3 separate regions of the Homo sapiens genome follow, and regions 1 and 2 are each linked to region 3. The links are contacts of gene promoters, found by promoter capture Hi-C in human tissues and cell types (Jung and others, 2019). All regions are on one chromosome and are shown on one strand. Each heading gives the region's core, a stretch centred on a gene start or on the middle of the fragment in contact. The rest is flanking DNA. Distances are from core to core; before and after follow the strand shown.

Evidence for each region. Contacts are between HindIII fragments. The study calls those that stand out against the background at their distance.
Region 1: a contact is called between a fragment that was not itself captured here and the fragment with the promoter of SDK1 in region 3, in 1 of the 25 tissues and cell types used here (IMR-90 fibroblasts).
Region 2: a fragment that was not itself captured here is called in contact with the fragment with the promoter of SDK1 in region 3 in 1 of the 25 tissues and cell types used here (dorsolateral prefrontal cortex).

What each region holds. Positions count from the first base shown.
Region 1 is chr7:4,300,557-4,304,598 of GRCh38, forward strand. No RefSeq gene overlaps it. Among named protein-coding and RNA genes, the nearest start is that of FOXK1, 380 kb to the right of the region's middle. The HindIII fragment of the contact is 5,021 bases long and covers 1-4,042 here.
Region 2 is chr7:4,423,175-4,426,862 of GRCh38, forward strand. No RefSeq gene overlaps it. Among named protein-coding and RNA genes, the nearest start is that of FOXK1, 260 kb to the right of the region's middle. The HindIII fragment of the contact is 7,016 bases long and covers 1-3,688 here.
Region 3 is chr7:3,299,313-3,302,906 of GRCh38, forward strand. It overlaps SDK1 (sidekick cell adhesion molecule 1), which reads left to right and starts at 1,940. Exons shown (of 45, transcript NM_152744.4): 1 at 1,940-2,572. The coding sequence starts at 2,275. SDK1-AS1 (SDK1 antisense RNA 1) reads right to left here. Exons shown (of 3, transcript XR_001744897.3): 1 at 2,917-3,594. RefSeq lists enhancers at 507-1,019, 1,020-1,531, 2,241-2,741 and a silencer at 1,417-1,966. The HindIII fragment of the contact is 11,292 bases long and covers 1-3,594 here.

The DNA of each region.
Region 1 (4,042 bases), core at 372-2,871, 1.0 Mb after region 3:
TTAGGCACAGGGAGCCAGATGATAGCAGAGTAAAGTTGTAGCTGGAATAGAAACAAATTTAAAAAGACGAAGATCTGCAGCTGGGAGAAGCACACCTAGCTGTGGGCTGGAGCCTGCACCTGCTACGCGTGAGAGCCTATTCTGCACATTTTGTCCCAACTTCATGTTCAGGTCTGTGGCTGTGGTAGCTTCAAGTTGACCTCAGCAGTTGTTTTTTTGTTTGTTTGTTTTTTGTTTTTTGTTTTTGTTTTTGAGACGGCGTCTCGCTCTGTCACCCAGGCTGGAGTGCAGTGGCACAATCTCGGCTCACTGCAAGCTCCGCCTCCCGGGTTCACACCATTCTCCTGCCTCAGCCTCCCAAGTAGCTGGGACTACAGGCACCCACCATCTCGTCCAGCTAATTTTTTGTATTTTTAGTAGAGATGGGGGTTCACTGTGTTAGCCAGGATGGTCTCGATCTCCTGACCTCGGGATCCGCCCACCTCAGCCTCCCAAAGTGCGGGGATTACAGGCGTGAGCCACCACGCCCGGCCCAGCAGGAGTTTTTAACCCCACAGGCACTCATAAAGACGGGTGCCTGTTCTCTTGGCCAGCCGGTTGTTGCACATTGACCAACATTGCACCGATAACCCTCCCTCTAGAATTTGGGCCAGTTTCCTCTCCTGCTTGGGGATTGCAAACACAAACACCATCCTTAAGTCCCAGAGAGACTGATTTTCAGAGACTAGACTTAAAAGAAGCAAGAAACTCAATTCAAACTTCAAACATTTAAAAAAAACATCATGTTTTCACTAACCTGATGCTTTTTAAAAGGATGAAATAAAAGTCTTTTTCTTGTTCAAGCAAGTCTTTTTCTTGTAACAAGAAAAGTCTTTTTCTTATTCATCAGGGCATCTCATTCCTCCTTTTTTTTTAAAAAAAAAAAAAAAAAGGACAGGGTCTCACTCTGTCACCCAGGCTGGAGTGCAGTAGCAGCATCGTAGCTCACTGCAGCCTCCAACTTTTGGGCTCAAGCGATCCTCCCACCTCAGCCTCCCGAGTAGCTGGGACTACAGGTGTGTGTCACCGTGCCTTGCTATTTTACATGTTTTGTAGAAATGGATCTCACTGTGAACCCAAACACCTGGGCTCAAACGATCTTCCCGCCTTGGCCTCCCAAAGTGCTGGGATTACAGGTGTGAGCCACCACACCCGGCCCTTATTTCTCTTTAATGAATCTGACTGCCCCTTGGTTTCAGCAATTCCGGCTAACGGAGGTTTCACCGGAGACCTGCACTGACACACCCAAGTGTCTTTCTCAGCGCTGGTGACCTGTGGATGCGTCCAGGGCAAAATGCTGAACTGTTATCCTTGTGCTCCGGCCGTTTCCCTCCTCAAACTTCAGGGAGACCTTCTGGTGCAAAACATTGGCAAGAATGTGAGGAGCAAGTGGGACCATCGGGGAGGGGTGAGCGGAGGAGCAGCTGGCTCTTTTTGTTGTTGTTGTTTTTGAGACGGAGTCTCGCTCTGCCGCCCAGGCTGGAGTGCAGTGGCGCGATCTCGGCTCACTGCAAGCTCCGCCTCCCGGGTTCACGCCATTCTCCTGCCTCAGCCTCCCAAATAGCTGGGACTACAGGTGCCCGCCACCAAGCCCGGCTAATTTTTTGTATTTTTAGTAGAGACAGGGTTTCACCATGTTAGCCGGGATCGTCTCGATCTCCTGACCTCATGATCCACCCGCCTCGGCCTCCCAAAGTGCTGGAATTACAGGCATGAGCCACTGCGCCCGGCCTGGAGCAGCTGGCTCTTTACGGCATCTGGGAATTGGAGCCGAGGGGAGGTGGGGTTGTGGCTCTGAAGCCCAGCCATGAACATCCAGGATTCTCTCTCTCCTTCTTATAGCTGATGCGACGAAGTGAGACAAGCCCCAGGTGCCTTTCCCGGCCCTGCACTTTATTGGCACAGGCTACAAGGCCCAGAGCACAGATGAATTTAGAACAGGTATTTAAAAATGTGAAGATTTTACTAGAGTTAGAAATGGTGAGCTGAGGCCTCGCTCACTGCCTGGTCCCGTGCACCTGTGGTCCAGGCCAGGCAGCATGCAGGCAGGTCTGTCTGTGTCACTGTGAATCCTGTGCACCTGTCCAGGGCTGAGGTTCCCAGGGGACTAGAGGTTCAGGCACCGGCTCCAGCCTGGGTCCCTACTTTTTTTTGGGGGGGAGGTAGGGGGGACAAGAGTCTCGCTCTGTAACTCAGGCTAGAGTGCAGTGGCACAATCTCAGCTCACTGCAGCCTCCGCCTCCCAGGTTCAAGCAATTCTCCTGCCACGGCCTCCTGAGTAGCTGGGATTACAGGCACCTGCCACCACGCCCAGCTATTTTTTATATTTTTTAGCAGAGACAGGGTTTCATCATGTTGGTCAGGCTAGTCTCGTACTCCTGACCTTAAGTGATCCGCCTGCCTCGGCCTCCCAAAGTGCTGGGATTAACAGGCGTGAGCCACCACACCCAGCCCTGCCTGGGCCCTTCCAACCCACTGTGTCTCTGCTCTTCTGTGCAAACAATCCCAGCACCAGGAAGGAGCCAGCCCTGCCCCCCGCTGCGGCCCTCTCCATGGGGAACCGTCAGGCCTCTCTGCCTACGCGGTCTCTGCAGATACCTGATGGGTGTGGAACGCCTCTGCCCATGGTTTAATAACTATTAAAACAGCTGTAAATGCTTCCCTGGGCAGTCTCGCTTGGCGGCCCCCAAGTACAGGGTGTTGCTTTTAGAAAGTAAATAAATCTACATACATTCAATCTCCAAAACACATCCTGTTCAACGAAGCTTCAAGAATAGGATAATTTTGCTTTGGAATACAGATGCACTTCACAGCATTTCCCCTGCAGCCCAGGACCGATGAGGATGTTGCAGCCTTCGGTGGTGTGGAAACGGGTGAGGGGTGAGGCGGCGGATAAGGACTTGGACAAATCTTTTTGCAGAGATGTACGTTTCTGCCTCAGGAAGCTGGTGTAAGGATAAGAATGACTCAAAGGTAAGACTTTGTTCTTTTAAACAGATGGAAGCAGTTTCCTCAGTGAATTACTGGAACCTAGTTCTGTTCATTACCTGAATTGTCCTTTTTTTTCTGTTTGATAATAGCTTTTGGTTATTTTTTTTACACACCACTTTTAGGTGGCAGGCAGTGGTTCATGCCTGTAATCCCAGTGCTTTGAGAGGCCAAGGCAGGAGGATCCCTTGAGTCCAGGAGTTTGAGACTAGCCTGGGCAACATAGCAAGACCCCATCTCCACACACACAAAATATATTTTTAAATTAGCTAAATGTGGTGGTGCATACCTATAGTTTCAGCAACTCGGGAGGCTGAGGCGAGAGATTGCTTGAGTCCAGAAGGTTGAGGCTGCAGTGAACCATGATTGTGCCACTGTATTCCAGACTGGGCAACAGAGCAAGACCCCATCTCTAAAGAAAAAAAAATCCACACTTGTATTAAGCTATCCCTCATATACAGTAAACCACACACCTCTTAAATGTACAATTGAGTGCCTTTTTCCATATGTCCCTACCTGTGTGCCATCAACCAAATCACGATATAGGCTATTCCCAGCTTCCAGAATGTTCTCCCATGCTCCTCCTTACTTCTTCCTCCCCCTGCCACCCTCTGCTGGGTGACCACTCCTTAACCTCTATCACCATAGGTAAGTCTGACCTGTTTTTGAGCTTTATGTGAATAGAATGGTATACCAGTTGTCTTGTTTCTGGCCTGCTTTACTCCATGTCATGCACATTCCCTCATGCTGTGTGGATGAATTCATTCATTCATTCATTCATTCATTCATTTTCATTGCTATATTTCTTTCTTTCTTTCTTTCTTTTTTGAGACAGAGTTTTGCTCTTATTGCCCAGGCTGGAGTGCAACGGTGCGACCTCAGCTCACTGCAACCTTCGTCTCCTGGGTTTAAGCGATTCTCCTGCTTCAGCCTCCCGAGTAGCTGGGATTACAGGCATGTGCCATCACGTCCGGCTAATTTTGTATTTTTAGTAGAGACAGAGTTTCTCCATGTT
Region 2 (3,688 bases), core at 94-2,593, 1.1 Mb after region 3:
AGTTTTGTATTTTTGGTAGAGACAGGGTTTCACCATGTTGGCCAGGTTGGTATTGAACTCCTGACCTCAAGTGATCCGCCCACCTTGGCCTCCCATTATGCTGGGATTATAGGCGTAAGCACTGTACCCAACCTCAAAAGGTTTATTAAGGAGATACAAGCACACCCCAAGAGGGAAGCAGGCTGACCCGTCTGGAAAACAGCTCCAGGCTGGTCAGGCTGGAAACATAGCAGTAGCAGCATTTACTTAAAGGGATGGTGCACTCTGAAAGAGATGAGACAGAGCGGGCTGCTGGGGGACTGTCTTTAGAGAATCTTACATGATTTTTCCTACAGGGGCAGGAGGGGGCGTCACTTGCAATCATGTTTTGGGTAGTCACCTTGGGTTTGCACACTCTGTGGTTGTGCATGCTGGTCCACACATCACATGTCTCATATGCATGCAAAGTCTCCACCCAAGGATGAGCTTTTTATTATCATAATGAGCAACAGGATATCCTCGGGCAAGGTTTTGGAGGAGTGGGCATGCTCATCAGCACGGGAAGTCCCTACCGTGGTTATCTCTGACTAGGGCTCGATAAACCCCGTCGGAGCCGGAAGAGCCCAACCACAAGGCCGGAAGTAGCCAGTGCAGCCTTCATCTTTTTCTCTGACTGTCAAAGGGCAGCATCTCCAAGACGTTTTTTCCCAGGAGCTCCTTTGCCTGTCTATTTCCGACCCTTTACCTCCTCTAACAACACCTTTCTAGCTGAGAGGGGCAAAGGTTCACCATGACTGTTCCCTGTGTGGCCACCATGGACAAGCAGAGGGATGACCTCATTACCGCTGGGCAGTAGTGAAGGCTCTGACTCCTAATAGGCCTCCTCTGACACCAGCCGATTACCAAGCAATTGATGTGCTTGCTGCCCAATGTGCACAGAGGCCAATACCATGGCACCAGCTTTTGAGAAGAGAAAAGCTGGCCGGGCACAGTGGCTCACGCCTGTAATCCCAGCACTTTGGGAGGCCGAAGCGGTGGATCACCTGAGGTCAGGAGTTTGAGACCAGCCTGGCCAACCTGGTGAAACCCCGTCTCTACTAAAAATACAAAATTAGCTGGGCGTGGTGGTGGGCACCTGTAATCCTAGCTACTCAGGAGACTTAGACAGGAGAATCGCTTGAACCTGGGAGGTGGAGGTTGCAGTGAGCTGAGGTCCTGCCATTGCACTCCAGCCTAAGGTACAAGAGCAAAACTCCGTCTCAAAGAAAAAAAAAAATAGAAAAGCTTTATTTGAGTTGACCAGCAAGGAATGGGAGGAAATGCTCCAATCTGTCTCCCTGAGCTGGGGGCTGGGTTGGGCTTTATAAGCATAGGGCAATGAGGTGTGATCTGATTGGATCCTGCCAGAGGGTGATGCCAGGGCTCAATCTCATTGGATCCTTGATCCTGCCATGTGGTGTCTGCTTCTTTTTTTTTTTTTTTTGGGACGGAGTCTTGGAGTCTCGCTCTGTCCCCCAGGCTGGAGTGCATAGGCGTGATCTCAGCTCACTGCAAGCTCCGCGTCCCAGGTTCACCCCATTCTCCTGCCTCAGCCTCCCTAGTAGCTGGGACTACAGGCACCCGCCACCACACCTGGCTAATTTTTTGTATTTTTAGTAGAGACGGGGTTTCACCATGTTAGCCAGGATAGTCTCGATCTCCAGAACTCATGATCCACCCGCTTTGGCCTCCCAAAGTGCTGGGATTACAGGCGTGAACCACTGTGCCCGGCCTTGGGGTCTGCTTCTTAATCCAGTCCACGCTTCTCCTTCCAACCACTTAGGGTACCCTTGTGGCTGCACCCTTGGTTCATCTGGGCATGCTCAGGTTATGTGACCTTCAACCTTGGGCCCCATGGCAACTGAAAAACAACTCACAAGTTTGTTACATGGATGTTGAACCAGGGCCAGCATGGTGGCGCATGCCTGTAATCCCAGCACTTTGAGGTTGAGGCAGGAGGATCACTTATGTTCAGGAGTTCAAGACTAGCCTAGGCAACATAATGAGACCCCCATCTCCACACACACACACACAAAGTTGAACCAGATTGGTCTGATGTGGTTAAAACCCCAGCAAGAAAGGGGAAGAGAGGGTGTCCTGTTGCTCCTGGGTGGAGATGAAGATCCAGGCCCCCTGCGTGGTTTCTACTGACCCAGCATGGTGGAAGAGGGACATGTTGTTGCTACTCAGTGGGGACGAATGTCCTGGTTTCACTCTACGCCTTTGCTGACATCATTCAGTGGGATATGGGTCCTGTCATTACAGCCTGGTAAGGATGGGAGTCTAGGCTCCCCACTCAAGCCTTGCTGGCAGAGTGGACATAGGGGAACACACTATGTTCTGTGGTTATTGGGCTGGGGTAGAGTGATTACTGTCTGAAAGTTTTCTGTCTTGACAGACTTCTCCTTTCCTGGTCCCCTGGCTAGAGAACAGACTTGTATTCAGGCTTTAAAAATTCTGTAGCTATTGGCATTTCCTGTTGCTGGCCCCTCTGATACCCAATCAGAAATAGAAAAAAAAAAAGAAGAAGAAAATGTAGGGAACTGACCATCAAGTCATTCTTTTTTTTTTTTTTTTTTTTTTGGAGACAGAGTCTCACTCCGTTGCCAGGCTGGAGATCTCGGCTCACTGCAACCTCTGCCTCCTGGGTTCAAGCAATTCTCCTGCCTCAGCCTCCTGAGTAGCTGGGACTACAGGCCGCCACCTCCACGCCCAGCTAATTTTTTTGTATTTTAGTAGAGACGGGATTTCACCATGTTGGCCAGCATCGTCTCGATCTGCTGACCTCATGATCCACCCGCCTCGGCCTCCCAAAGTGCTGGGATTACAGGCGTGAGCCACCACGCCCAGCCCACCATGTCATTCTTTGTGTCTGGGAGTCCCTGGCCAGTCTGCCTTCTTCTCTCCCCCTTTCAGAGTCTTCTTATGTTTGTTTTTTGTTTTGTTGTCGTTGTTTGTTTGTTTGTGGCAAAATAAACATAATATAAAAGTTGCCTATTTCAATTACTTTCTTTTTGTTTTTGTTTTTTGGCTTTTGTTTGTTTCAGAGATGGTGTCTCATGCTTTTGTCCATGCTGCAGTGCAGTGGCACAATCATAGCTCACTGTAGCCTCAAATTCCTGGGCTCAAGCAATCCTCCCACCTCAGCCTCCCAAGCAGCTGGGATTACAGGTGCACACAACCACATCTGGCTAATATTTTAAATCTGTTGTAGAGGTCTTGCTATGTTGCTCAGGCTGGTCTCAAACTCCTAGCCCCAAGCCATTTCAACCATTTTTAAATGGTTTACTAGCATTAAGTGCAGTCACCTTGTTGTCTTACGGCTGTCTTGCATTTGACATCCTGGGTTTTTCATTGTAATTGTCAAGATGAATAGGGAAAAGCACGTCTACTCCATCAAGTGGAAGTTAAAGGGATATTTTTAAGACTGCGAGCCAACAGTACACTTCATGGAGAAGCATGAGACAGTATGAAAATGTGATTAGTTCCTTTAAGTCAAAGGGTCAAGATTTGCTCATTCCTTTCCAGTATCGAGTAGATGCTAAGCAATGTGTCCTAATTCAGGTGGAGTTCTGGGCTGGGCACAGTGGCTCACACCTGTAATTCCAGGACTTTGGGAGGTCGAGGTGGGTGGATTACCTGAGGCTGGGCGTTCAAGACCAGCCTGGCC
Region 3 (3,594 bases), core at 690-3,189:
CAGTAGCAAGGTATCGGCTCACTGCAACCTCCACCTCCCAGGTTCAAGCAATTCTCCTGCCTCAGCCTCCCGAGTAGCTTGGACTACAAGCGCACGCCACTACGCCTGGCTAATCATCTTCTTCTTCTGTCTTTCTTCTTCATTTTCTTCTTTCTTTTTTCTTTTCTTTTTTTTTTTTTTAACTGCAGACGAGGTTTCACCATGTTGGCCAGGCTGGTCTTGAACTGACCTCAAGTGATCCGCCCGCCTCGGCCTCCCAAAGTGCTGGGATTACAGGTGTGAGCTACCGCGCCCGGCCCACTTCTTTATGCCTCAGTTTCTCCATCTGTACCAGGGCCAGCACCTCTCACACAGCAGGTAGTGAAGCTGCTGCTGCTGCTGCCCTGGGCTGGCCTACAGTGAGTGCTCACTGCACAGGAGGTATTGCTTCCCCCCGCCCAGCAGGTTCTCATTATAATCTTGCAAGTTTGAAGAAACCCAGCCTTGCTACCAACAGAAGATAAAAACAGACATGCCTCTCTGCCTCCAGTCTCATCCCCATGTCCTTGGGGAGCTGTCCTCTTCCGGCTCGTCCCATCTATGCGCCCTCACTATATCCTCAGAACAGGGCACTCCGTGGCTCCTTTAACTTTTTTGCCCCTCCTAGCATGGTGTGGAAAGGGGGCAGATGGGAGGCCTCTTTCTGAAACCACCTCCTGTTCGGCGGCTGTACTTGGACCTCAGTTTCCCTGTTTTGTTCACGTGGTCATTGTTAAGTCTTAGGGGACGTGTACAGAGGCTAATATTGAGCCACCAATCAGTTATTTGACAAATACCATAGGCGCTCTGTGAGCAGGAGCTGGCTCCTATCCCAGACCCCAGCCCTGTGACCTGCTCTCCACTCGCCCGGGGTCTTTCTTGGCTGGGACAATAAACCTACTGCATCAGGTGATTCCTGGGGAGTCAGCCCCGTGCTGGGCTCACACCCAGCCCCTCTGCGTTCATCTCTTACATGATCTCATGCGACCATCATCACACGTCCCCAGGCTCCTCCCGGGCCAACTCCAGAGGCAGTGCGTGTCACCTCCAGCTCTCCTCCCACAAAAATGCTGGCCTTTCAGCCTCCAGTGCGCTTAGTTCACCCCATAAACTCTGCTAATGCTTACCACATGCTGAGCGTCGGCGCCCGTCCCCACCCCCAGCCCCACAGGCTCCCGGGTCCCGCCCTGGGAGACCCTCCCACTGGCCGACCCTGCCCCAAGACTCGCCCACTCCACGGTGGGAAACCTGCAATGTGTCCCTCCCTACCCCGCCCTCCTCCAGCGCCGGCCAAAAGTGACCTTGGACGCTTCTACAATGCCATATCCACTCCTCTGAACAGGAGGCGAGTTTGCACCCAGTGGTGCCTTTGGTTGCTAGAAATTAAAAACCCGATTGCGCGTGTTTGCAATTACGGTAACTTGGCGCGTCACCCCCAAGCACTGAGCTAGCTGGTGGTAGCCGGGCGCCTCTCGGGGCGCGCCCTATTCCGCCCTCGGCCCTGGGCTGCCGCACGATCTGCGCGTCCTGCTGCACCTGAGCCCTTCCCACTCGGGCGCCCGCACCGCTGCGGGGCCGGGCGAGGATGCACCACCCCCGCCCGCGAGCCCGCCACGGGAGCGCGTGCCGAATCGACGCCGCCTGCAGTCCCCACTACGGGTCCCTAGGGGGCGCAGCCGGCGCGGGAAGCCGCCCGAGCCAGGCGCCGCGGCCGGCACAAAATTGCAGGCGGGCGGGCGCCGCGACTTTGAAAACAAGCGAGGGCCTGGGGGGCGGGCCCTGGGAGCGGGCGCCGCCTCCCTCGGCCAATCAACGGCGGGCGGCGGGCGGCGGGCGCGGGCGGCGCGTGCGGCCGGGCTGTGAATGGGGAGCGGCGGCCGCGGCAGCTGAGGGCGAGCGCGACCGCGACGTGCGGGCGGGCGCACTTTCTTCTCAGCGCCGGGCGGGGGCGGCGGCGGCGGCGGCTCCTCCGCGCCCGGCGGACCCCTCGGAGCTAGCGCGGCGGGCTCGGGACTGCGTGAGCGCCGGACGCGAATTTCCCCCGTTGACAACTTCTTCTCGCCCGGCTCGTCCCCGGCCCGCGCCGCGCCCCTCACGCGGGGACCCAGGACGCCGCCCCTCAGCGCTGGGCGGCCGCTCACCTCGGGCCGGGGGGCGCCGCGCCTCCCGCGGAGTGGCCGCGCCCGCTCGGAGCCGTCCCGCCTGTCCTGCCCGCCCGTCCGTCCGGCGCGGCGCTCGGGGTGGCGGCTGCTCGGCATGGCCCGGGGCGCCCGGCCCTCGGCGGCCGGTGGCGGCGGCGGCGGCGCGGAGCCCCCTGAGCGCGCGGGCCCCGGGCGGCCGCGGGGATCCCCGCCCGGCCGCGCCCGCCCCTCGCTGGCGCCGCGCCCCGGCCCGGAGCCCTCGCGACCCCGGGCGGCGCCCGAGACCTCCGGCGGGGACACGGCGGGCGCGGGGCGGTGCGGCGGGCGGCGGGCGGCAAAGTTGGGGCCGGGCCGCCGCGGCTGGTGGGCGCTGCTGGCGCTGCAGCTGCACTTGCTCCGGGCGCTGGCGCAAGGTAGGTGCGCGCGGGGTCGCGGGCCGGGGGCGTCGCCTCGGGGCGCGGAGGCGCGAACTTGAGCAGCGAGAGTGTGTCCGGGGTCCCCCCGCTTCCCGGCCCGGGTCGGGATGCGCCTTGCTGGGGGCTCTAGGGAGCCCAGGGGCTCCTCCACGCCAGACTCGGAGGAGAGGGAAACGGAGCCCCGTAGAGCCTGCACCCCGTCTGCTACTTTGCGTTTTATTTTTTTTATACCGCAGTAGCACAAACAAAAATTTTTAAGTTGAGGACCCATTTCTCAGCTCCTTAAAAGGATGCCCGAGTCCCCTTCCCATTGCATGGATGAAAAAGGGGCTGGTCTGTACCTGAGTCTTCGCACCGCAGGGTCTGGTTTCCGGTGAGTGACATCCAGAAGACTTGGAAATATCAAGTGCCAGTCGCTGTGAAAAGCCTTTTCCAGCCCCTCCCCAGGGCCTCGTCCTCTCCCCAGCCCCCGCCTGCTCCTGACTCCCCCAAGTCCCAAAGCCCGACCCCAAGTGGGTGCTGCGCGGCCGGTGGAGCAAAACTTTCAGTGCCCACAGCTTTTGCACTTGGCTTTGTTTTTCTCCCTCTATTGGCTTCTGTTTAGAATACAGTGGTGAGCTCTGAAATAGGGAAAGAGGATCTGCTGAATGGAAATGACCTTTTGAAACGAGAGATGGGATCTCTTGTGAAACGAGCTTTCCTTCCCAAATCTGGGCTTCCCTCCACCCCCTCCCCGCCCCCGACAAAACCCGTAACGTACCCCTGCCAGCTAGCATCGTTTTCTTTTGAAGTTTGCTGGTCTTTAAACCAAAACACCCCCCTCAACCCAGAAATAACTATTTTAATACGTCCTTTGGTAACGTCTTTAAAACACATTAGTGAACTGGTTTTGCTGATGGTAGTTTTAGGAAAATTAACTTAGTTGTATTCCAAGATACAGCTAACGAACAATCATGGTAAGGAACTCGATATTCTGAGATTGGCGAAGATGAGAGCATTAAACTTAAATTAGCTGTGTT